7 separate regions of the Homo sapiens genome follow, and all the other regions are linked to region 7. Evidence: promoter capture Hi-C in human tissues and cell types (Jung and others, 2019). All regions are on one chromosome and are shown on one strand. The core of a region is centred on a gene start or on the middle of the fragment in contact, and the rest is flanking DNA. Distances in the headings are between cores, read along the strand shown.

Region 1 (3,083 bases), core at 213-2,712, 460 kb after region 7:
ATTTATTTATTTATTTATTTATTTATTTGAGACAGTCTAGCTCTGTCACCCAGGCTGGAGTGCAGTGGCACAATCTGGGCTCACTGCAACCTCTGCCTCCTAGGCTCAACGAATTCTTTAGCTTCAGCCTCCCAAGTAACTCGGACTACAGGCATGAGCCACCAACGCCTGGCTAATTTTTAAATTTTTTTGTAGAGATGGGGTTCCACCATGTTGCCCAGGCTGGTCTCAAACTCCTGAGTTCAAAGTGATCTGCCTGCTTTGTCCTCCCAAAATGCTGGGATTACAGGTATGAGCCACTACATCCATCCAGACCAAACAAACATTTTAAAGAATAAAAAAACCATTAAATTTATTTTTTATTTTCTTTTGGAATTATTTACTGTATATTCAGACTAAATTTTTGATATTAAACACTTAGTAACAAAACATTTTAATATGACCAGTTAATCTTCAAAGTTTTCCAGAAGAAGAAAGAAATGAGAAAAGATAAGCATAAAGGAGAAGTAGGGGAAGCCTGCTACAAGCAAGTAAGAAATTACAAAAAACTAATAATTATATTCCTTCTGCAAGGAGAGAAGATGCTATAAATGCAGGAAAACACATTTTGAAATCAAATAACACACAAAAAATAAGAATTAGTAAGCCATTTAAAAACAACCTGGGTCCTTGAGAATTCCTTTAAGCCATACAAAAACAAAACTAGTAACAAATAATCAGGGAGGTGCAGAACCAAATGGAAGTCTACGTAAATTGAAGTAAGTGATCTTTCATCTGGACAAATAAGTCAAAGAGGTCCCTCTTCAATGTTGCTCCCATCGTTGTACAAATAGGCCTCTCGGTGAACAATTGTTTTCATGTCAAAATTTCACCAAAGTGGCCAATGTGATTTCAAATTGTCCTTGATGAAATTATTCCAATTAGAGATATTTGTACATATAATAACAAGGGAACAGATTATTGGTTCAGAAAGAAACAGATCCAGAAGATTCCATAAGAAAAGAAAATGCTACTGAGTATGCTTGCCTAAATTTGTGCTTCTGGAACCTAGTCAAATATTGTCATCATCAACAAAAGACCCAATAAAACCCACAGATCTTCCAGGTGAAATTTCATAATGCAAGTCTCAGGAACACAACAACAAAATTGTTGGAAGTCTCACTAAGTTCTTATAGATTACCCTGAATATTTCAGCCTTGGGTACCATATCAAGAGAAAGAAAGATTAAATCTAGAACTGTTCTCTTCCTATGAGTTTCTAATTATAGACTCACAGTCAAGAACTATTAAGGAGACAAAAAGTAGTATTGTTAAAATCCAGGCAGGTTCTCACTAAGGACAACAGTTTTCAAATATAATTATCTCTTCTAAGAGACAAAATAAACTCAACATTTGGAAACTCACTGAAAATAAGTCAGAATTTAGACCTACTATGTGGCTTTCTCACATTATTCTGGAAAGACTTGCAAGCTGGAAGCTTAATGGTACTCCGGTTAGCACAGTGTTTCTGAGTTAAGGGTTTTTGGCTGTGTAATGAGAATTTCTCAATTAAACCTCTGTTCAACATTCAGAAATGATAACTATTGACCCCTCCACGAAGACTATAAAAATAACCTGTTGATCAAACAAAACTAAATTTGCTAAACTTGACCCACCAAGGGATAATTTCACAAAACAGAGGCTTATTAGTGTCTAACAAGGGTAAATTTAGGGTAGATATGTATAAGTTTAGGGTCTGAAAACAAGTTGTTTACAGAGGGTCTTTGAAGTGAGAATATTGATTGCAGTTGGGTAAGGTTTATGACATGGTGTTTAAGACTGGTGAACTCAGTGAAATGAGGATAATAAAACTAGAATCCTGATAAACTATCTGTCCAGATATGAAGACAATTTTCCTAATATGTCCTCTACCTGTTCAGATAAGCAAGGAATTTGCCCATACAAATCAGTTTATAAGTATTTTCTGAAACAAAAGATGAGTTATTTATTGGATTTTCAGACATCCTGGTCAAGAACTTCCTGAACAATTAGAATGATGGTATGCGTGGTCATAAACGGATATAAATTATTGTGCATTTATAAATGTGACAGTTTTACAGATGTGTCTAAATTATTTCAAATTCTTTTAATTTAAAGATGGAGTCTTTCTCCCCTCTCCTCAATATAGGTTGGCCCTAGTGTATTGGTACTAATGAACAAAATGTGGCCTAAGTCACTAGTTTATTAGGCTATATGATAATCCAGTGGGACTTTAGGTAAGCTTTGTCTTTCTTTAGGTGCCTTTCAACCCATTCACCATGTTGTAAAGAAAGCCCAGGCCACATGGAGAGGTCACATTCTCATCTTATTGAGTCACTGTCATTCTTTGAGTTCTCTAGTTGAGGTCCCAGACATTGGGAAACAGGCACAAACTATCCCTGGCATGCTTCATCCGAATTCCCAAACCACGTATTTCATGTGGGTTGTTAAACAGTGGTCTTCTCCTTATCCCCAGTTTTGCTTTCCATGTTATTATTTACCCCTGATTAACCATTATCTGAAAGTATTAAATTAAAAATTCCAGAAATAAACAATTGATGAGTTTTAAATTTTGCACCATTCTGAGTAGCATAAGGAAATTTCACACTATCCTGCCCTGTTCCAGCTGGGGCATGAATCATCATCTTTTTCCAGCCTATCCATGCTGTATACACAGCCCATTAGTTACTTATTTGCTTTGATTATCACGTTGAAAAAACAACGGAATATATAAAGTTTAGTACTAACTGCAGATTCAGCCAGCTACTGGGATTTCCCCGTGGATAAGGGGGTACTACTATACATCATTAGATTTTGTGGAAAATGTGTTATACAACAGTTCGTAAATGAAACAGATATACAATGCATATCCTTTGATAAAAAGACTTTTATTAAGATATTTTATTAACCTAAGTATAATCTTCTTAATAGACGCTGAAACACATTTAGTAAAATGCATCAATCATTTTTTAAAAATAAAAACAAACGTATTAAAAGTGAAGACCAAAATATCTGAACAAGTGATGGCCATGGTGGAGAGGCAACTGAAAAGATGCTGGATGCAGA
Region 2 (3,061 bases), core at 529-3,028, 300 kb after region 7:
ATGTGGACTTAAGTACATTCCAAGAGGTGGTGAGAAATATGAGGGATTTTATAATTGATCACTTCACTTATAAAATAATATAGAACATTTAATGGGGAGAAAAAATTGGGTTATGGTAGGTGGTGAAATGAATTGAAGGAAAAAAAGAAAAAAAACCAGGAGAAATAGTACAAACTACTGTTTCCAGAAACTTGTGTTTGTAGCTTTTATCTCTCCTTTACCCTCTTACTTATGCAGGGTATAAAAACATTTTAACCTTTTTGTTTGTTTTTCTTTGTTTTATTTTTATTTTTGTTTTGTCAATATTTCTCTTTTGCTCTGTTCCTTATTAACATGCTCAATGCAATCTGGGGCTTCAAACAGTCGATGGCCTCCCTGCAAGTTGAGGCAATCTCAATAAATATTGAGGTATTGCAACATTAACTCAATTATTCGACTGAATGGAGAAGAAGCACTAATGCAGTTCAGAAAAAATAATTTGTTTGCTTTTGGGATGTGATAATGATATTGCACAATAAAACGGTTAATTTTCAGAGACAGATTTGCCTAGATGAGTATTAAAATTAATTGTTGTCACTAGAGCACAGGTTCAATAATGAAATGGGAGAATAAAAATAAATTGTATTTTGCTTATAATTATTGAGAAATAAAACAAAATATTTTCACCTAAAATGCATATCCAGGAAATATTAAAAACAAGATAAATTACCTTTACATATTAGAAAATACAGTTTTCAAAATATAAGAACAAAGACTTGTTAATATAAGACAGAGCAAAAGGTGAATCTGATTTTGAGGAGTTTAAAAAAATTATCTTTCTCATAATAGGCAAAATTACTGCCATTACTTGCTTTTGTTGTTAATGTGTATGGAAACGTAAGAATCACATTTATTTCAACTGTGTGTCAGGATTCAGAAGACTGAAACATAATCAAATGCATTTATTTATTTTCCCTTACTGTTGTCTGAATTCTTGCTTTATAGTTTTATGATGATTAAAATTATGATTAAGAAGAGGGAGACATCATTAACTGGTCCAGTGGCTCTGCAGGTTTTTTTTAATACCCTGCAGTGAATCTTTGCACCTAGATTTGTAAAGGACTGATTTCCACAAGAGTGGAATATGTTGTCTAAGTTTTTATTCTAGCATCTGGATGAAGCTTCAAGGCATTTAATGTGATCTCAAAGCCATTCATCCATTGCAACCCCCTGTTGTGACGAACAATGAGAATAGAGAGCTGTTTCTTAAGCTTGAGGCACATATATAAGCCACTTCTCCTAAATTTTTTATTTGTGTACAACTTGAATCATTCATTTAAAATATTTTGTAAGTTTAAATTAATCACCTTTATAAGATACGAATGGAATATGCTTTAAAAAAACTGTATTCCGCAAGCTTTGTGTGCACATACAATGAAACAACAACACATTTTTGTATCTGTATAGACACTATGGAAAAACACACTTCTGAAATCTGCTTCAATGTGCAATGAGAATAGATTGATTATTTGTGGTTGAGATTATTTTTCATGGTGTCAGGGACTATCAGTACTTAGCTTCTTTGTCCTGATACCATATGGATCAGTGTCATGAGAAAACAAACAAGTAACTGAAACAAACTTGCTGAAGATTACAAGTGAAATGCTTTACAATTAAATATGGAAGAAATACTATCTTTTAGTATTCTTGAGTATTCTTTTACCGTATTTTGACATATATGCATATAGTCTGTGCTTTATGATGAAGTATTTTGCAAGTGAATGGTAAATATGTAGGTCCTATGAAGGAAGAGGTAGAAAATTATTTCAGAGAAATAAAGAAAGAAGATCATGAAAGCTTGCAATTATGTGCTGCAAAGTTTGATCGTTTGTTTTGGTAAATGGAGATTTACTAAGTTTAGAAACAGAAGAGGCACTTATATGGTTAAATTTACATTTCTGACAGACCTTTCACTTGCTTATGTTGAGGATAGATATATATGTAGTGAGCCTAAAGGTAAAGAAACTAAAATATGAATGTAACAATACAGGTGAAACATTGGGGATTATGGGCAATAGAAGCTCTAATCAGAGGAAGGTTAAATAAATATAATTAAATGGATTTATTAACCATTAATTGAATGGGAGAGGTCCGTGGAATAACTCCTGTGATTTTGGTCTAAGTATTAGAAGAATGCTGTTACTACTCACAAAGGAAATTGCCTTTGGAATATCATATAGAGATATTTAGTAGCAGTTTATATGTGTCTAAAACATAAAAGACAAAGTAAAAACTAGCTCTAGAACCATTCACCTATGGGTAGTAATATACATTGTGTGTTGTCTAAAGGGCATACAGAGTAAGAAAAAAACTAAATATGAGCTCCATTGATAAATGAATCACAAATAAGAAATACAACTGAATTTATAAAATTATAAAATTATTTCTCCCTCGAAGTTTATATATTAATTTCTATTTACTTTTTATTGTCTTACTGAGTGATTTCCAAGACACTGGTCCTCTGATAAGGGGCACATTGTTTGGTCTTTGTTTCCTTTCATCCTGTAAGTAGGTTTTCCTGGGAGCCTACTCAAAATTTTGATAAGAAAGGATACTTTTCTGAATGTACTAATTATTTTTTCTGAAAGTTTATTTCTCCTATTTATACTATGAGATGAGTGCTAAATGGAGTCTTTTTCAGTGCCGAGGTTAGCAAAAAGTGATAAACAATATCATATATGCTAAATTATATTGCTGTAAAAACTAATCTTCAAATCTCAGTGACTTAAAGAAAAATGTTAATTTCCTCTTTAGGTTAAATGCCAATGCTCTGCCCCACATCACCATTACAGCAGAAGCTTCTGATGGCTCTCACACAACATTTACGCTCACTTATATTGCTTAAAGCAAGTCTCATAGTTAAACTTGATGGCAGTTGGTCAGATATACAGAATCCTTCCACAGGGAGAGGGGCAGCAAACATTTTAAACAATACAATCTGCCACACATACTCTGCTTATTTACATAATCGCATTATTAAAGATACCTCAACAACATTCCCTTTTCTACCTGCTTTGTTCCT
Region 3 (3,068 bases), core at 247-2,746, 330 kb before region 7:
TTGCATGTATCATCTAATTGTAGATAATCTTTTTTTTTTTTTTTTTTCAAGACTGGGTCTTACTCTGTCCCCAGGCTGGAGTGTAGTGGCATGATATCGGCTCACTGCAACCTCCGTCTCCCAGGTTCAAGCGATTTTCCTGCCTTAGCCTCCCGAGTAGTTGAGACTACAGGCAGGCACCACCATGCCCAGCTAATTTTCTTTTGTATTTTTAGTAGAGAAGGGGTTTTACCATGTTGGCCAGGATGGTCTCGATCTCTTGACCTCTTGATCTGCCCACTTCAGTCTCCCAAAGTGTTGGGATTACAGGCATGAGCCACCACGCCCGGTCTGGGATATTATTCTTAAATTTCAGTTTTTATAGTTATTCTATAGGTATAATTTCTAAATCTTTATATAATTATTTAAATATAGTTTATTTCTAAAAATTAATATCTAGAGTGGTCTCTCCTGCTGAGAATCATAACTCCAGAAGAATTGCTTAAAAAATATGTTAGCTTCTCCATTGTTTAGAACTATTGTCATTTTTGAGGGAAAAAAAAGGAAGTGCTTCACTCTTGAATGCAAAGTATTATGTATACTTATACAATTAAAAGAATCCACATAACATACAATTAAAAGAATAATGATTCAGTTTCAGCTAATTATTTTGCTGTTTGTTTACTCTTCATGTTACTATAATCTAATGTTTAAAATATCTCTCCTTCTTCTTAACTCTACTTTTATTCCTCTTTAGCTATGTGTCTCTATTCTCATCACCTCTGATAGCTTAATAAATATTTTGTCATATATAATAGAGAAACATTTATTTTTTTAATTAAAAAATATATTTTAATGGTAAAAATATGCTGCAAAATTTTGTCTTAGTCTTTAGGCTTTTATTATGCAAAGTGACTTCAAAAACCTGACGGAAAACACATATAAGAAACTCTGCATGGCTTTCCATCTTTCTGCATTAAACTCACCCTAGCTTGTTACAACATACCTGAACAGGAAGTAGCTTGAAGCCTTAAGAAGGATACGACATCAGTTTGCAAAGAGCTCCTATTGGAGCAACGTGAATTCTGGTAAAATCGAAGCAAGAACAAACATCAAACTTATGGTGAAGCTTGGGTGGAAGAATGGTGAAATCATGATGCATTACAAAATGTTTGTGAGGACAATGCCCCAAAGAAATCAGCAGTTTACAGATGAGTAACTTGTCTTAAGAAGGGATGAGATGATGTTGAAGATTAAATCCACAGAGACAGACCATCCACATCAATTTGCAAGGAATAAATTCATCTTGTTTGTGCCCTAATTGAAGATGACTGATGATTAACAGCAGAAATTATAGCCAACCCCTTGACATCTCAACTGGTTTAGCTTACACAGTTTTGACTGAAAAATTAAAGCTGAGCAAACTTTGCACTCAACAAATGCTAAAACTGTTGTGCCCAGATCAGCCGCAAACAAGAGCAGAGCTTTCAATGCAAATTTTAAACAAGTGGGATTAAGTTCCTGAAGACATTTTTGAAAAATTGTAACAGGATATGAGACATGGCTTTAACGGTAATATTCTGAGGACAAAGCAAAATCAAGGTAATGGCTATGTGGAGGTGGAAGTAGTCAAGTCGAAGCAAAAGTGAACCAGCCAAGAGCAAAGATGATGGCAATCGTTTTCTGAGATGTCAAGTCATTTTGTTTGTTGACTTTCTGGAGGGCCAAAGAAAATAATATCTCCTTGTTACAAGAGCATTTTAAGAGAGTTACCCAAAAGCGTTAGCAGAAAAATGCCCAAGAGAACTTCACTAGGGAGTCCTTCTCCACCATGACAATGTGCCCGTTCATTACTCTCGTCAAACAAGGGCCATTTTGCAAGATTTTCAATGGGAAAAAATCCACCTTATCTAAGGTATCCACCTTAGAGTCCTGATTTGGCTCCTTCTGACTTCTTTTTGCTTCCTAATCTTAAAGAAAACAAACAAACAAAAATACTTTAAAAGGCACCAATTTTTCTTCAGTTAATAATGTAAAAATACTGCATTGACATGGTTAAATTCCCAGAACCATCAGTTCTTTAGGAATGAACTAAATGGCTGATAGCATCACTTACAAAATATCATGACCTTGATCAAGCTTACGTTGAGGAATAAAGTTTATATTTTTCATTTTTACCTTGTAATTCCTTTTTCCACAAGCTTTTCAAAGTCTCCTCGTATTGACTTAGAGTAATATCTTAATGAATGGGTTCCTAAAAGTACTTTTATATTTCAGAGTGGATCAATTCAATTAATTTACAATAACTACTTGAAGGTCTCTTATGTGTAATAAGCAATTTTAGGAAGATAAAAATTATTTCGTGGAGTTCTTATGTGAGTTGTGTATTTGTGTGAAATCAGAGGAAAGACAGAGAGAGCCTCGGAAATGGATAGCACTTTTAAAGAGGCATAGTTGCCTTAACTTTACTGTTTTTATATTGTATGTCACTGTTCTTCTGCTTATATGCAAATAACCATTTTCCTTAGTGCGGTTATGCAAACATTTGACTTAGAAAGGGAATAGATTAGGGGGAATTAGAAGAAAACAATGCATATTAAGTAAATTTGTGTGTTATGCTATGTATGAAATGAAGCCTATAATATACTTTTACTTGAATTCTATGATCTAATGAGGCAAATACTACTCACAATTGAAAGGCTGGCTTCCAGAAACTTTCTTTTCAGCAGTCGCAAACCCCTTTGTTAATCTCTCTGATTTGAATGTCAGACACCCATTCCTCAAACTTTAAATAAAATGACATTTCTAGGTTTTTTTGAATATCTTTAGAAAATATAAAAATACTTTCTAAACATAAAAGATTCAGATGGAAGGTATATTTCACGATTGTGCTGAGATTGATCTAAAACTAAACACAGCTTATTTTTCTGTGTGCTTCATGAAATTTATTTGTTATCGAATAGCTATATTTAAGTCTTAATATTTATTAATTTTATTGCTGTCACAACTAAGAAATCATACCTTTTCTAGCATTTGTTTCCAGGATCTTCTCTTAATTAAAAAATAATAATTACTGCCTCCTTTTTGTA
Region 4 (3,189 bases), core at 461-2,960, 420 kb before region 7:
TGGATAATGGCAATTCAGAGATCTTCAGAGCTGCTACTCCTATTATGGGCCCAGAGTGCAAACACTGGGGTCAGAGCAGTTTTAAACAGGGGTTGGAGGGATGCAGGGGGAGAGAGGCATGTCACCAGCACATGTAGAACTTTGGTACACTCTGCTTTGACAGTATCTCAAATTATGAGCTCTGTTCCCCTCACTCCAGCATTATATTCCCCAGCTGCCTTGGGAGTGGTTCAGATGGAGCCCAATGTGCCATGGACTGCACCCAGAACAGCAGGAGGCTGTGGCTATCTTCATCTCCATTTCAAAGGATAGGGCCTCCTGGAAGAGCCACAGGCTTAGCATCCCATCCCTGGAGAGCAGCTGGGCCCAAAAAGGGATTCATCATAGGTGCAGGATCTAGGCCCAGGGCCTTGGAGGCCTGTATTAGTCTATTCTCACATTGTTATAAAGAAATAACTGAGACTGGGCAATTTATAAAGAAAAGAGGTTTAATTGGCTCATGGTTCTGCAGGCTATACAGGAAGCATGCTGCTGGCATCTACTGGGCTTCTGTGGAGGCCTCAGGAAAATTACAATCATGGTGGAAGGTGAAGCAGGAGCAGGCAAATCACGTGGCCAGAGCAGGAATAAGAAATGAGGTGCTACACACTTTTAAATGATCAGATCTTGTGAGAACTCACGCACTATCGTGAGGACAGTATGTGGAATGGTGGTAAACCTTTCATGAGAAATCTACACTCATGATCCAATCACCTCTTACCTGGCCCCACCTCCAACAATGGAGATGACAGTTCAACACGCAATTTGGGCCAGGACACACATCAGAACTATGTCAGAGTCCAAGCCCTAGCCAGCAAAGCTGAGGGAGCAGGGTTGCTGCTTCAGCAAGTTCAGAAGTTGAAACTTTTGCCCCAGTCATCCTGGAAGGCAGACCACTGAGTCAAAGAGGATTATTCTTAAAATGCTATAAACTGAAGATTTTTGTCCCCCAGATTTATATGTTGAAACCCAATCCCCAATATAATAATATTTAAAGATGAGGCCTTTGGGAGTTGATTAAGTCATGAGAGTGGAAGCCTCACAAATGGATTTAGTGCTCCTATTAAAAAATGACTCAAGGGAATTTCCTTGCATTCCACCAAGTGAGGTTTCATCAAGAAAACTGCTGTCTATGAACTGGGAAACAGGACTCCATCAGATAGTTTATCTTCTGGCACCTTGGTCTTGGACCCCCTAACCTCCACAAATGTGATAAATAAACTTCTGTTGTTTATAAGCCATCTAGTTTATGGTATTCTCTAACAGCAGCCAAAATGAACGGACACTGACCAAAGGGAAGGACTCTCTCCTAAAAAGTAGAAAAATAGGCCAGGTACCGTGGCTCAGGCCTATAATCCCAGCACTTTGGGAGGCCAACGTGGGTGGATCATGAGGTCAGGAGTTTGAGACCAGCCTGGCCAACATGGTGAAACCCCATCTCTATTGAAGATACAAAAAATTAGCGTGCCTGTAATCCCAGCTACTCAGGAGGCTGAGGCAGGAGAATCGTTTGAACCCGGGAGTCAGAGGTTGAAGTGAGCTGAGATTGTGCCATTGCACTCCAGCCTGGGCAACAGGCGAGACTCCATCTCAAAAAAAAAAAAAAAAAGAAAAAGAAAAAAGAAGAAGAAAAGAAACATCATAAAGAATAGAGCAGTATGCTGTTCAACTTAACTTTCTATGGTGAGGAAAATGTTTAATCTGTATGCTACCCAACACAGTAGCCAGTAATTACATGTAGCTGCTGTACACCTAAAAAGAGGTTAGTGAGAATAAGAAACTAAATTTTACAGTTTTATTTAATTATAATCAACTTATATTTAAATAGATAACACGAGTCTTAGAGATCTTACACAGTAGTGCCGTTCTACAGTCATTAAATGCATAAAATTAGGACAGTGGTTTTCTAAATGTGGTCTGGAAACCCTTGAGGTTCTCTGAGAAAATTTAAAGGTGCCAAAGGTTAAAACAATGTTTATACTAGTACTAAGAGATTATTTGCTTTTTTACTTGCATGTTTGCACAGTGATATTTTTTCAGAGGTTACATGATATATAGTATGCAACAGGATGAATGCACCAATAGATCTGATATTCCCATATGTTTTCTCAAGCCAAACATTAGAAAGACTTTTTTAAATGCAAAATAATATCAGTTTCTATTTCTTTTTATAATATAGGTATATTTTTAAAACTATGTTAACATTCATTGATGTCACTTAAATTTTTTAAATATCCACTTTAATATCTTTTATTTATTTATTTATTTATTTTATTTATTTATTTTTTTGAGACAGAGTCTCGCTCTGTCACCCAGGCTGGAGTGCAATGGTGTGATCTTGGCTCACTGCAACTTCCGCCTCTCGGGTTCAAGTGATTCTCCTGCCTCAGCCTCCGGAGTAGCTGGGATTACAGGTGCGTGCCACCATGCCCGGCTAATTTTTGTATTTTTAGTAGGGACGGGGTTTCAGCATGTTGGCCAGGCTGGTCTTGAACTCCTGATCTCAGGTGATCCACCCGCCTCAGCCTCCCAAAGTGCTGGGATTACAGGCGTGAGCCACCACCCCCGGCCCATTTTAATTTCTAATATTGCAAATATCACTAGATGTAACTCACATCAACAAAAGCTCTCTGGCATCCTCAGTAACTTTCAAGATTGTAATGGCACCATGAAGCCCAACTTTTGAAAATCACTAGACTGGAAGGCCCAATAATTCTACTGCTAATTTTATTATAAAAGAATTCCTTGCATGGTTAACAAAGGTTTGCTATTTTTTTTTTGAGTTGAATGATTCCATGAGTATGATTCCATGAGTATTCCATGAGTATGATTCCATGAGTATTCCATGATTCCATGAGTATGATCCCATGAGTATTCCATGAGTATGAAGGGAATGATCCAAAACATGTAAAAATGTTTCTATAGCAATTAAATAATAATTGGCATGTTATCCTAGGTCATATTCCATTTGTTAAAAGAGCACTTGTCCTTTAATAGCCATGCTACTCTGGAGGATTTCAGGCACACAGGAAATGTAATAATTTTTTTAGCACCAGCAAGTTACTCAGCATCAGGATATCTTGTTTTAATAAACAAAGTTAATGTATGTCTACTTCAGAGGTTCACAGGAAGATGTGCCTCATCAGGAGA
Region 5 (3,016 bases), core at 486-2,985, 290 kb after region 7:
TTCTTTATTGTACATTGACATTGGATCTTGTAGTCTTTTACTTTCAATTATTGCATTTTTATATTTTAGTGTTCTATTCATTTTTCTAATCTTGATGCCAATATTTATGGCCTCCTCTTTTTGCATGTTTTTATTTCATTTTTTTATTTATACACCGTTATTACATATTCTGTATTTAAATATTCCAACATGTCTAATATCTAGGCATGGTACTAGATCTGCTTTTTTATGTTTATGCTCATTAATTAGAGTTTGTTCATTGTATGTTTTTGGTAAGTTTTTATTTTGTTGATGTAATCTCTGGTGTATAGAGGTCCTAAATTGTGGATGATATATTCAAGAGAGAATGCTGCTTACTTCTGTTGGAAAAAAGTAGATATTCCTATCCTAGAAACAGTTATCGCTCATGGAGGACTCCTAGGTTAATGTTTGAAAGTGGGGGGATGTATTCTCCTTATTTTAGTGAGTCATTGTCAATCTCATTTTTAGCCTTATTAATCCTTACACTTTAATGGATTTATTTCCCATTTCTCTCTTGCCATACTTATTAGTGATCCTAATAATTAATGAAAAGTATTCTTTACGGTAAAAATAAAATACAGTTATATTTAGCATGATAATCCATGTGCATACTAGCCAGAAGCAGAAATTGAAATTCTTAATCTTTCAAACAATTTATCTGTCTTTACATAATCTATAATTACTAAATACTGAATAAGGAAGAGTAGCTTAGTCAGTGGCCTTTTCCCTGTCAATATGGAATAATACTTTATTAATTCTTTTTGGTCTATTATTTAGTTAAAGAAAAATATAATGTTAAAAATGTATGGCATAAGGAGTTAATGAAGTGTTCATATATTATTCCTACTTTTAATATCTGACTCAAAAATTGAACAAAAAATTGAAGAAAAATATTAAAATTAATACTGATCTTATTAGGCTTATTGATGGCATGTTTGGTTACTTTTAGTTTATTTGAATATAAGTCAGAATCTTAATAGCATAAAACTTTGGTTTAAAGTTTCTGAGAGAAGATCAATCAGTAGAGCATTTTAAAACCCCTATCTGTAGCATGTATCAAATACATATTAAAATTTAACAAAAAAAGAAGCATTGTTTTCCAACTTGTGTTTTTGGGGGTTATGATAATTCTTTTACTAATATGTTAAGTGATACTGAATGAATTAGCTGTTGAAACATTAATCTCCAGGACAGAAAACACTTGAAATAAAATTTCTGTATTTTAAAATGCCTTTTAGAATAGGAAGAATGGAAAACTGTTCATGTTGTTAGACCATCTAATTTAATCTGAGTTGTGATTGTTTGGGGCAGCTAATGTAATTAAAGTTGATGATGTCTAAAATTCTGTTGACTTAGCATACACAGTTACTTTCAGTCAGAAATTTTTCTTTTGTAATATCTTATGGGTACCACTTATGTATTGTTTACATTTTGGACAACTCCAATAGTATCAGTTACTTATAGTAATGTTAGTAAATAACTTTGTCAAGAAGAGTTGTATGTTGTTTAGGAGGAGAAAATGGAGAAACAGCAATTGGAAATAATGATGAGGCTTTTAAAATTAAACTTTTAACAAAAATGGGAAAGGCACAAAAATGGACAACAGGCCCAGGAATTATGTTATGCTGATGCCTGCGTGAATGGAGCTCTCATGGGGACCATGACAAAGTCAGCCACGTCATGAACAGCTATATGAACAGTATAATTAAAATGCCAAGGGATTCCAGTGGAGGTGGAAATGGACTTTCCTTGTTGATTTGGAAGAGGTTACAGTTCAGCTGAGGCTTTAAAGGAGTAAGATTTTTCTGAGTGGAAGGAAGGGTAAACAATTCCAGCAGAGGGAAACACAGCCAAGGCATAGGCTTATGCCTCAAATGCAATATGCATGTATGTGTGGAGTATGGGGAAATGCAACTAGAGACAGTAAGTAAACAGATAAATGGTAGATTGAGGCTAACCAGGAGACAATTGAAGAAGTTCAAAATTTATTCTCAAGATTTTAATTTTAGATGTTATTCAGTTTGATGGCCACCACTAACCTTTCGCTTCTCATATTAAAACCTCCCTGGGAAGAGGGAGAGACTGCAATGGATGACACAAAGAAAGTAAACGTTGGATTGAGGTAGACACATAGTGAACATGGTGGAAATATTTAGTCTGTGCTGAGCTAAATATTTCTGAGAAGTATAGAACTGAGACATCTAGAGGCTGAATTGGCTGGTGATAAAATAGCAGCAAATTACAAAATGTAACTGAAGAAAGATAACTCTGATGCATAGGGAATGTCTTTGATGAACTTTTGGCATTGGAGTTCCTAGAGATAACTTGATTTTTATACTTCCCAAGATACCAATGTTAGCTCTTTTTTGGAATGTTGTGAGAATTCCCTACTTTAATATGCTTTAAACATTTTTAAAAAATGTTTAGGTGTTTAAAAAACATTTTAATCCGGTTAGATTTGGTTTTTATTCTTTGCAACTAAAATATTTCTGACTAGAATTATTAATAAAAATTATTGAAAAACAAACAAGCAAATAATATGATTCTTTTTGAGTTTTGAAAAGATACTCTTGAATTTACATGTTCACATTAAATTAAGTTTTAAGTACTATGCAATATACTTCCAACTCTTATGTACCTAACTTACAAGTGCCAATAAAAGTTATCCTCCTTTTTTGCTGTCAATTCTGCCAGAGACATCAAAGGTTACTTATATATTCATGCATTTGAGAATCAACTATCAAAGCTTATTTTTTAATGCCAGCCTCTGTTCTTCATGTTGAATAAAAAAAGATATCAAGAAAGTAGGAAGTATAAAAAACAGACAAAAATCTCTGCTCTCAGAGAGCTCCCAGTTGAAAGACAAAGTGTTTGAGAAAAATTAAATTTAATTAACGATGTATTTTTCAAAAAAATTTTTTTCAACTGTAAAATTTAAATATAGGATTTATTATTCTTCATTAGAACTGGCATAACATGGTTTTGGTGGTCTTCA
Region 6 (2,879 bases), core at 366-2,865, 360 kb before region 7:
TTGCTGGGATTACAGGTGTGAGCCACTGCACCCAGGCTAGATAATTCTTAAATGCATATTTCTTAGTGAATTTACTCAATGTGTAAAGACAACATACTGCACCATTCCATTCAGCTAGTATCCTGGAAAATGCAAAACTATAGAAATTATAGATAAGTGGTTGCCAGGAATTTGGGGAAGGGTATGTTTTGAGTAAGGGAAGTACAGTGAATGTTTCAGAACAGTAAAACTATTCTATATGACACTGTAATCATGGATAGTGGCACTATGCTTTTGTTAAAAGCCATAGAATATTATAGCACCAAAAATAAAAACATAATGTATAAAAACATTTTTAAATAATGTAGGAGAGCAGGGAATTCCAGGATATAATATAGAATGCTACAAAAGCATCTAACCTTGTAAGTGTGTAAAATAACCTCACTGAAAGATGTGGGGTAAATATACTGACCCAAGTAAATTTTAAAATTAAAGGCATTAAGGAACTGTGCATAAGCACTATATTCTAATTGGGAAGGCAATAGAGAAAGTTAAATGAGTAGTATATAAAATCTTTATATAACCTCTTTGCAACTTTTTTGTAAATTTAAAAATGCTCTAAAATAAAATATTTATTAAAAATGAAGAAAACATTATGCCAAGTGAATGAAGCTTATAATTAAAGGTTTCATGCTGAAGTGCAGGTGTATCCAAAAGGATCTTTGCATTGAAACAGGATTCACCATCTAATCTGTCAAAGAAACTCTAGTGCTAGACATTTAAAAAATAACATCCTGAAGAATGAAGAGAGCGCTTCCAAAATGGCCGAATAGGATCAGCTACAGTCTGCGGCTCCCAGTAAGACGGATGCAGAAGACGAGTGATTCCTGCATTTCCAACTGAAATACCTGGTTCATCTCATTGGGACTGGTTGGATAGTAGGTGCAGACTACGGAGGGTGAGCTGAAGCAGGGCAGGGTGTTGCCTCACCCAGGAAGCTCAAGGGGTTGAAGGATTTCCCTTTCCTAGCCAAGGGAAGCCATGACAGACTGTACCTGGAGAAACTGTACACTCTTGACCAAATACTGTGCAACCTGCAGACAAGGAGATACCCTCCTGTGCCTGGCTCAGTGGGTCCCAAGCTCACAGAGCCTTGCTCACTGCTAGCGCAACAGTCTGAAATTGACCTGTGATGTTGCAGATTGGCAGGGACAGGGGTGTCCGCCATTGCTGAGGTTTGAGTAGCTCACAGTGTAAACAAAGAGGCCCAGAAGCACAAACTGGGCGGAGCCCACCACAGCTCAACAAGGCCTATTGCTTCTATAGATTCCACCGCTGAGGGCAGGGCATAGTAGAACAAAAGGCAGCAGACAGCTTCTGCAGACTTAAATGTCCCTGTCTGACAGCCCTGAAGAGAGCAGTGGTTCTCTCAGCAAGGCGACTGAGCTCTGAGAACAGATAGACTGCCTCCTCAAGTGGGTCCTTGACCCCTGTGTAGCCTGACTGGGAAACACCTCCCAGTAGGGGCCAACAGACACCTCAAACAGGTGGGTGCCCCTCTGGGACAACGCTTCCAGAGGAAGGATCAGGTGGCAATATTTACTGTTCTGCAGCCTCCGCTGGTGATACCCAGGCAAACAGGGTCTAGAGTGGACCTCCAGCAGACTCCAACAGACCTGCAGCTGAGGGATCTGACTGTTAGAAGAAAAACTAACAAACAGAAAGAAATAGCATCAACATCAACAAAAAGGACATCCACATCAAAACTCTATCTGTAGGTCACCAACATCAAAGACTGAAGGTAGATAAAACCACAAAGATGGGGACAAACCAGAGCAGAAAAGCTGAAAATTCCAAAAAACAGAGTGCCTCTTTTCCAAAGGATCACAGCTCCTCACCAGCAAGGGAACAAAACTGGACAGAGAATAAGTTTGATGAGCTGACGGAAGTAGGCTTCAGAAGGTCTGTAATAACAAACTTCTCTGAGCTAAAAGAGCATGTTCTAACTCACTGCAAGGAAGGTAAAAACCTTGAAAAAAGGTTAGACGAATGGCTAACTAGAATAAACAGTGTAGAGAAGACCTTAAATGACGTGATGGAGCTGAAAACCATGGCATGAGAGCTTCGTGAACATGCACAAGCTTCAATAGCTGATTCAATCAAGTGGAAGAAAGAATATCAGTGATTGAAGATCAATTTAATGAAATAAAGTTAGAAGACAAGATTAGAAAACAAAGAGCAAAAAGAAATGAACAAAACCTCCAAGAAATATGGGACTATGTGAAAAACAGAAATATACGTTTGATTGGTGTACCAGAAAGAGACGGGGAGAATGGAACCAAGTTAGAAAACACTGTTCAGGATATTATCCAGTAGAACTTCCCTAACTTAGCAAGGCAGGCCAACATTCAAATTCAGGAAATACAGAGAACACCACAAGATACTCCTTGAGAAGAACAACCCCAAGACACATAACTGTCAGATTCACCAAGGTTGAAATAAAGGAAAAAATGTTAAGGGCAGCCAGAGAGAAAGGTCAGGTTACCCACAAAGGTAAGCCTATCAGACTAACAGCAGATCACTTGGCAGAAACCCTATAAGCTAGAAGAGAGTGGGGCCAATAATCAAAATTCTTAATGAAAAGAATTTTCAACCCAGAATTCCATATCCAGCCAAATTAAGCTTCATAAGTGAAGGAGAAATAAAATCCTTTACAGACAAGCAAATGCTGAGAGATTTTGTCAACACCAGGCCTGCCTTACAAGAGCTCTTTTAAAGGAAGCACGAAACATGGAAAGGAACAACTGGTACCAGCCACTGCAAAAACATGCCAAATGGTAAAGGCCGTCAACGCTATGAAGAAACTGCATCAATTAATAGGCAAAATAACCAGTTAACAT
Region 7 (2,846 bases), core at 141-2,640:
CACACGCTCACACTCACACACACTCGCACCCGGGCGCGCGCGCACTTGCACTCACACTCGCACACGCACACCCAGCACTGCACGGGGAGGAAGCAGCACGGAGGGAACCGGTCCTTCTCACGATTGGCTTCGAAGCCCACCGGACCGCGGGCAGCAAAGAGAGCGTTCTCGCATAGCCCTTTAATCACGTTTCCTTCAAGTTCTCCTCCAACCCGAATCCACGTAATTCAAGAGCTGGTGACATTTTGGTGGGGAGGAGGGAGCCGAGAAAGGGCTGAGGAAGAGTCGGGGATTTTGTTAAGCAGTTTAATAAGCAATCCTCATTACCTTATTTGTTTTGTTTTGTTTTGTATAGCAAACCAGTTCGAAGGGCTGAACTTTTGGCTTCAAATGCTGTGAACCAAAACGTAAATATCCTTCTGGCCAAGAGAAGAAGGTGTAGATACACGGAAACAAGAGGGCTGCAAGACACTCTCTTGACCTTGTGATGTACCTGGAAGCAGGTTAATATTGGCGCTTTCCAAGCTTCTGGGTAAAGCGATCCACACACCTGGGTCCACAGCCCAGCAGCCGCTCCAAATCCAGCCAGGAAAATGGGTCTGGGCGTCCTCAGAGCTCTGCAAGAACCCGGGCATGAAGGGGCATCGCCGAGTTAACACATTTGCTTCTGGGCAGTTGGATAAAAGACAGTCAAATGCATCAGATAGGCGCGCGCGTACACACGCGCGCGCACACACACACGCAGCTAGCTGGAAAGCGGCTTACAAAACACTAGAGACATGCCAAGATGACTTGAAAAGGTAGCCAACATCCAGGATCTTTCCGGAACACAGAAGGGCCAGCAGGGAGGTTATCAAAGTCTTCTCAAGTCTTTCAATTCTTCCTCTCTCCTCTGAGTGTGTGTGTGTCTGTCTAGGTTTCGTTGGTCTGCCCCACCCCCGTCCAGTTGCGCTTTTTTTTTCTGATATAACGGACCGTGCAAAATGGATTATATGGGTGGGCTGTGTTCACAGCCAGAGCTCCCCAAAGTCAAGGATCCTAAGGGAGCAGCCAGCTGCTAAACAATTCACATCCTCAAGGGAAGAAGGAAAAACACGCTCAAACACACGCAAACACGCGCACACACATACATAGTCCTCCGTTCGGGCAGCTCTGCACACGCTCACCGCCTCCCTGCGCGCCGCGGAACACAGCGCCCCGCCCGCTGGCCACCGCGCTGGGGCGAGTCCGCAGTTCAGGCGCGAGGCAAGCAGCCGAGGTCCGGGGCTGCGGCCGCGGCCGGGGCGGACCCGGGAGCTGGGCTTCCCAAAGCGTCGCGTGTGGGCAACGGCGGCCTCCTGGCCGCGTGGAACTGAGCCCTGCGCTGCAGCATGAAGGCGGCGGCGGCGGCGGCGGCGGGCGCGCGGCCGTGAGCTCAGCCCGCGCTGCAGTGACGGGAGCGGCCGTGTCGGCCAGACCCCGAGAGTCCGTGAGACCCCGGCCGGGGCCGCTCCGCTGCTGTCAGCCCTCGGGCCTCCCAGCCAGACTGGTTCTGAACCGATTTATCAGGGGGTTGCGGAGAGGGCCGGCGAAGCGCCAGGAAATCCCCAGGCTGAGGAGGCGCGGGGGCGTTGCAGGAAGGGGGAAGGGAAAAGGCAGAAAACCTGGAGAATGAAAGCGAACTTCCAGGGGCGTCCCCAGCCTCCTGCAAAAGGGCAATTTGCTGATCGCCCACTTCCTCGCAGTTACGGGATAGAGAGAATCATCACTGAGTCAAGCTTCGGCTGCTTAGGGCGGTGGGAAAAGTCATTATCTATAATAACCCGCCGGAAATTTTGAGGAGAGCTACTGACTTGGGGGTTTCAGTCATCTGAGGCTGGCTTCCGCTGTCCCCTTAGTTGTGGGTGGTGATTTGCTTACTAATCAGATGGGAGCGGATTCTGAAAAGAACATTTATATTTGGGAATCAACTCAGCTCAGCATCAGACATTACGAATACTGCAGTTGGTCACATTTTACTATGTGAAGGGCAGAAAGGGAGCCCAACAGTCTTCATAAGCCAGACCTAGTCTCTAAGGTCACCGGCACAGACGCAGGGTCTAAAGCAGGAAAGAGGTGCGACTGGAAAGGAGGTTAGACAGGGCCCTGCGGGAATGGATCTGCCCGGAGCCCTCGCCTGGTTTTGCTTGAGACTCCGACAAGACTCCCAATGCTTCTCTCCCCGACCCTATCCCCACTCCCTCCATCCTGGAAAAGCCAGTGAGCAAAGTTAACTCTTTCTTCTAAGAAACCCTGAGTGAAATCTTGCTCTTCCTTTCTGCTAGAGTCCTGAAACCCTTTCGCTTCTCATTGTGGGTTCACCAGCACGTGGTCTTCGGACACTGAGAGCACCTTCGCTCTCAGCTGTGATCCTAGCTAGCCCAGACACCAGTCTGTACCCAAAGGAAGAGTAGGAAGTTGCAAAGGGAAGCTGGCTAACAAGGGCTTCTTCTGCCCTACTTGGCAAAGGCCCATACGGGTGGCCTCCGTGGATATGGAGCTCCTTCATTTTGTTCCAAAAAGAGCTCTGCCAGGCTTTACCATTGCCCTGGAGGTGCACAGGCGCCCGTATACTCGAGCACAACCATGGGCTCACCCCAAGCGCGCACACCTGCACCCACGCGTAAGGAAGAACCACACAGCTATCTCTGTCGGGGAAGAACACGAGGAGTGAAGTGCTTTAGGTGGAAACTCCTCACATCTCCTTTCTTTCCTCTGCTCCCCCTCTCTGCCCCTGGTACTCCGGATCCAATCCTTGGCTTAGGAATCCACTCAAGCCACGTCTGGCTGCTTTGTTCCAGAGGAGCGCAGCTCCGAGACTGCACTTC

Evidence for each region. Contacts are between HindIII fragments. The study calls those that stand out against the background at their distance.
Region 1: a contact is called between a fragment that was not itself captured here and the fragment with the promoter of LRFN5 in region 7, in 2 of the 25 tissues and cell types used here (H1 embryonic stem cells and mesendoderm cells).
Region 2: a contact is called between a fragment that was not itself captured here and the fragment with the promoter of LRFN5 in region 7, in 7 of the 25 tissues and cell types used here (H1 embryonic stem cells, dorsolateral prefrontal cortex, heart left ventricle and 4 more).
Region 3: a fragment that was not itself captured here is called in contact with the fragment with the promoter of LRFN5 in region 7 in 2 of the 25 tissues and cell types used here (H1 embryonic stem cells and dorsolateral prefrontal cortex).
Region 4: a fragment that was not itself captured here is called in contact with the fragment with the promoter of LRFN5 in region 7 in 1 of the 25 tissues and cell types used here (H1 embryonic stem cells).
Region 5: a contact is called between a fragment that was not itself captured here and the fragment with the promoter of LRFN5 in region 7, in 6 of the 25 tissues and cell types used here (H1 embryonic stem cells, adrenal gland, dorsolateral prefrontal cortex and 3 more).
Region 6: a contact is called between a fragment that was not itself captured here and the fragment with the promoter of LRFN5 in region 7, in 1 of the 25 tissues and cell types used here (adrenal gland).

Annotation. Positions count from the first base shown.
Region 1 is chr14:41,145,873-41,148,955 of GRCh38, reverse strand. No RefSeq gene overlaps it. Among named protein-coding and RNA genes, the nearest start is that of LINC02315, 190 kb to the right of the region's middle. The HindIII fragment of the contact is 5,817 bases long and covers 1-3,083 here.
Region 2 is chr14:41,301,126-41,304,186 of GRCh38, reverse strand. No RefSeq gene overlaps it. Among named protein-coding and RNA genes, the nearest start is that of LRFN5-DT, 290 kb to the left of the region's middle. The HindIII fragment of the contact is 3,928 bases long and covers 1-3,061 here.
Region 3 is chr14:41,939,906-41,942,973 of GRCh38, reverse strand. No RefSeq gene overlaps it. Among named protein-coding and RNA genes, the nearest start is that of LRFN5, 330 kb to the right of the region's middle. The HindIII fragment of the contact is 4,826 bases long and covers 1-3,068 here.
Region 4 is chr14:42,022,500-42,025,688 of GRCh38, reverse strand. No RefSeq gene overlaps it. Among named protein-coding and RNA genes, the nearest start is that of LRFN5, 420 kb to the right of the region's middle. The HindIII fragment of the contact is 6,760 bases long and covers 1-3,189 here.
Region 5 is chr14:41,317,556-41,320,571 of GRCh38, reverse strand. No RefSeq gene overlaps it. Among named protein-coding and RNA genes, the nearest start is that of LRFN5-DT, 270 kb to the left of the region's middle. The HindIII fragment of the contact is 6,864 bases long and covers 1-3,016 here.
Region 6 is chr14:41,966,856-41,969,734 of GRCh38, reverse strand. No RefSeq gene overlaps it. Among named protein-coding and RNA genes, the nearest start is that of LRFN5, 360 kb to the right of the region's middle. The HindIII fragment of the contact is 3,977 bases long and covers 1-2,879 here.
Region 7 is chr14:41,605,420-41,608,265 of GRCh38, reverse strand. LRFN5 (leucine rich repeat and fibronectin type III domain containing 5) reads right to left here and starts at 1,390. Exons shown (of 6, transcript NM_152447.5): 1 at 1-1,390. The HindIII fragment of the contact is 3,229 bases long and covers 9-2,846 here.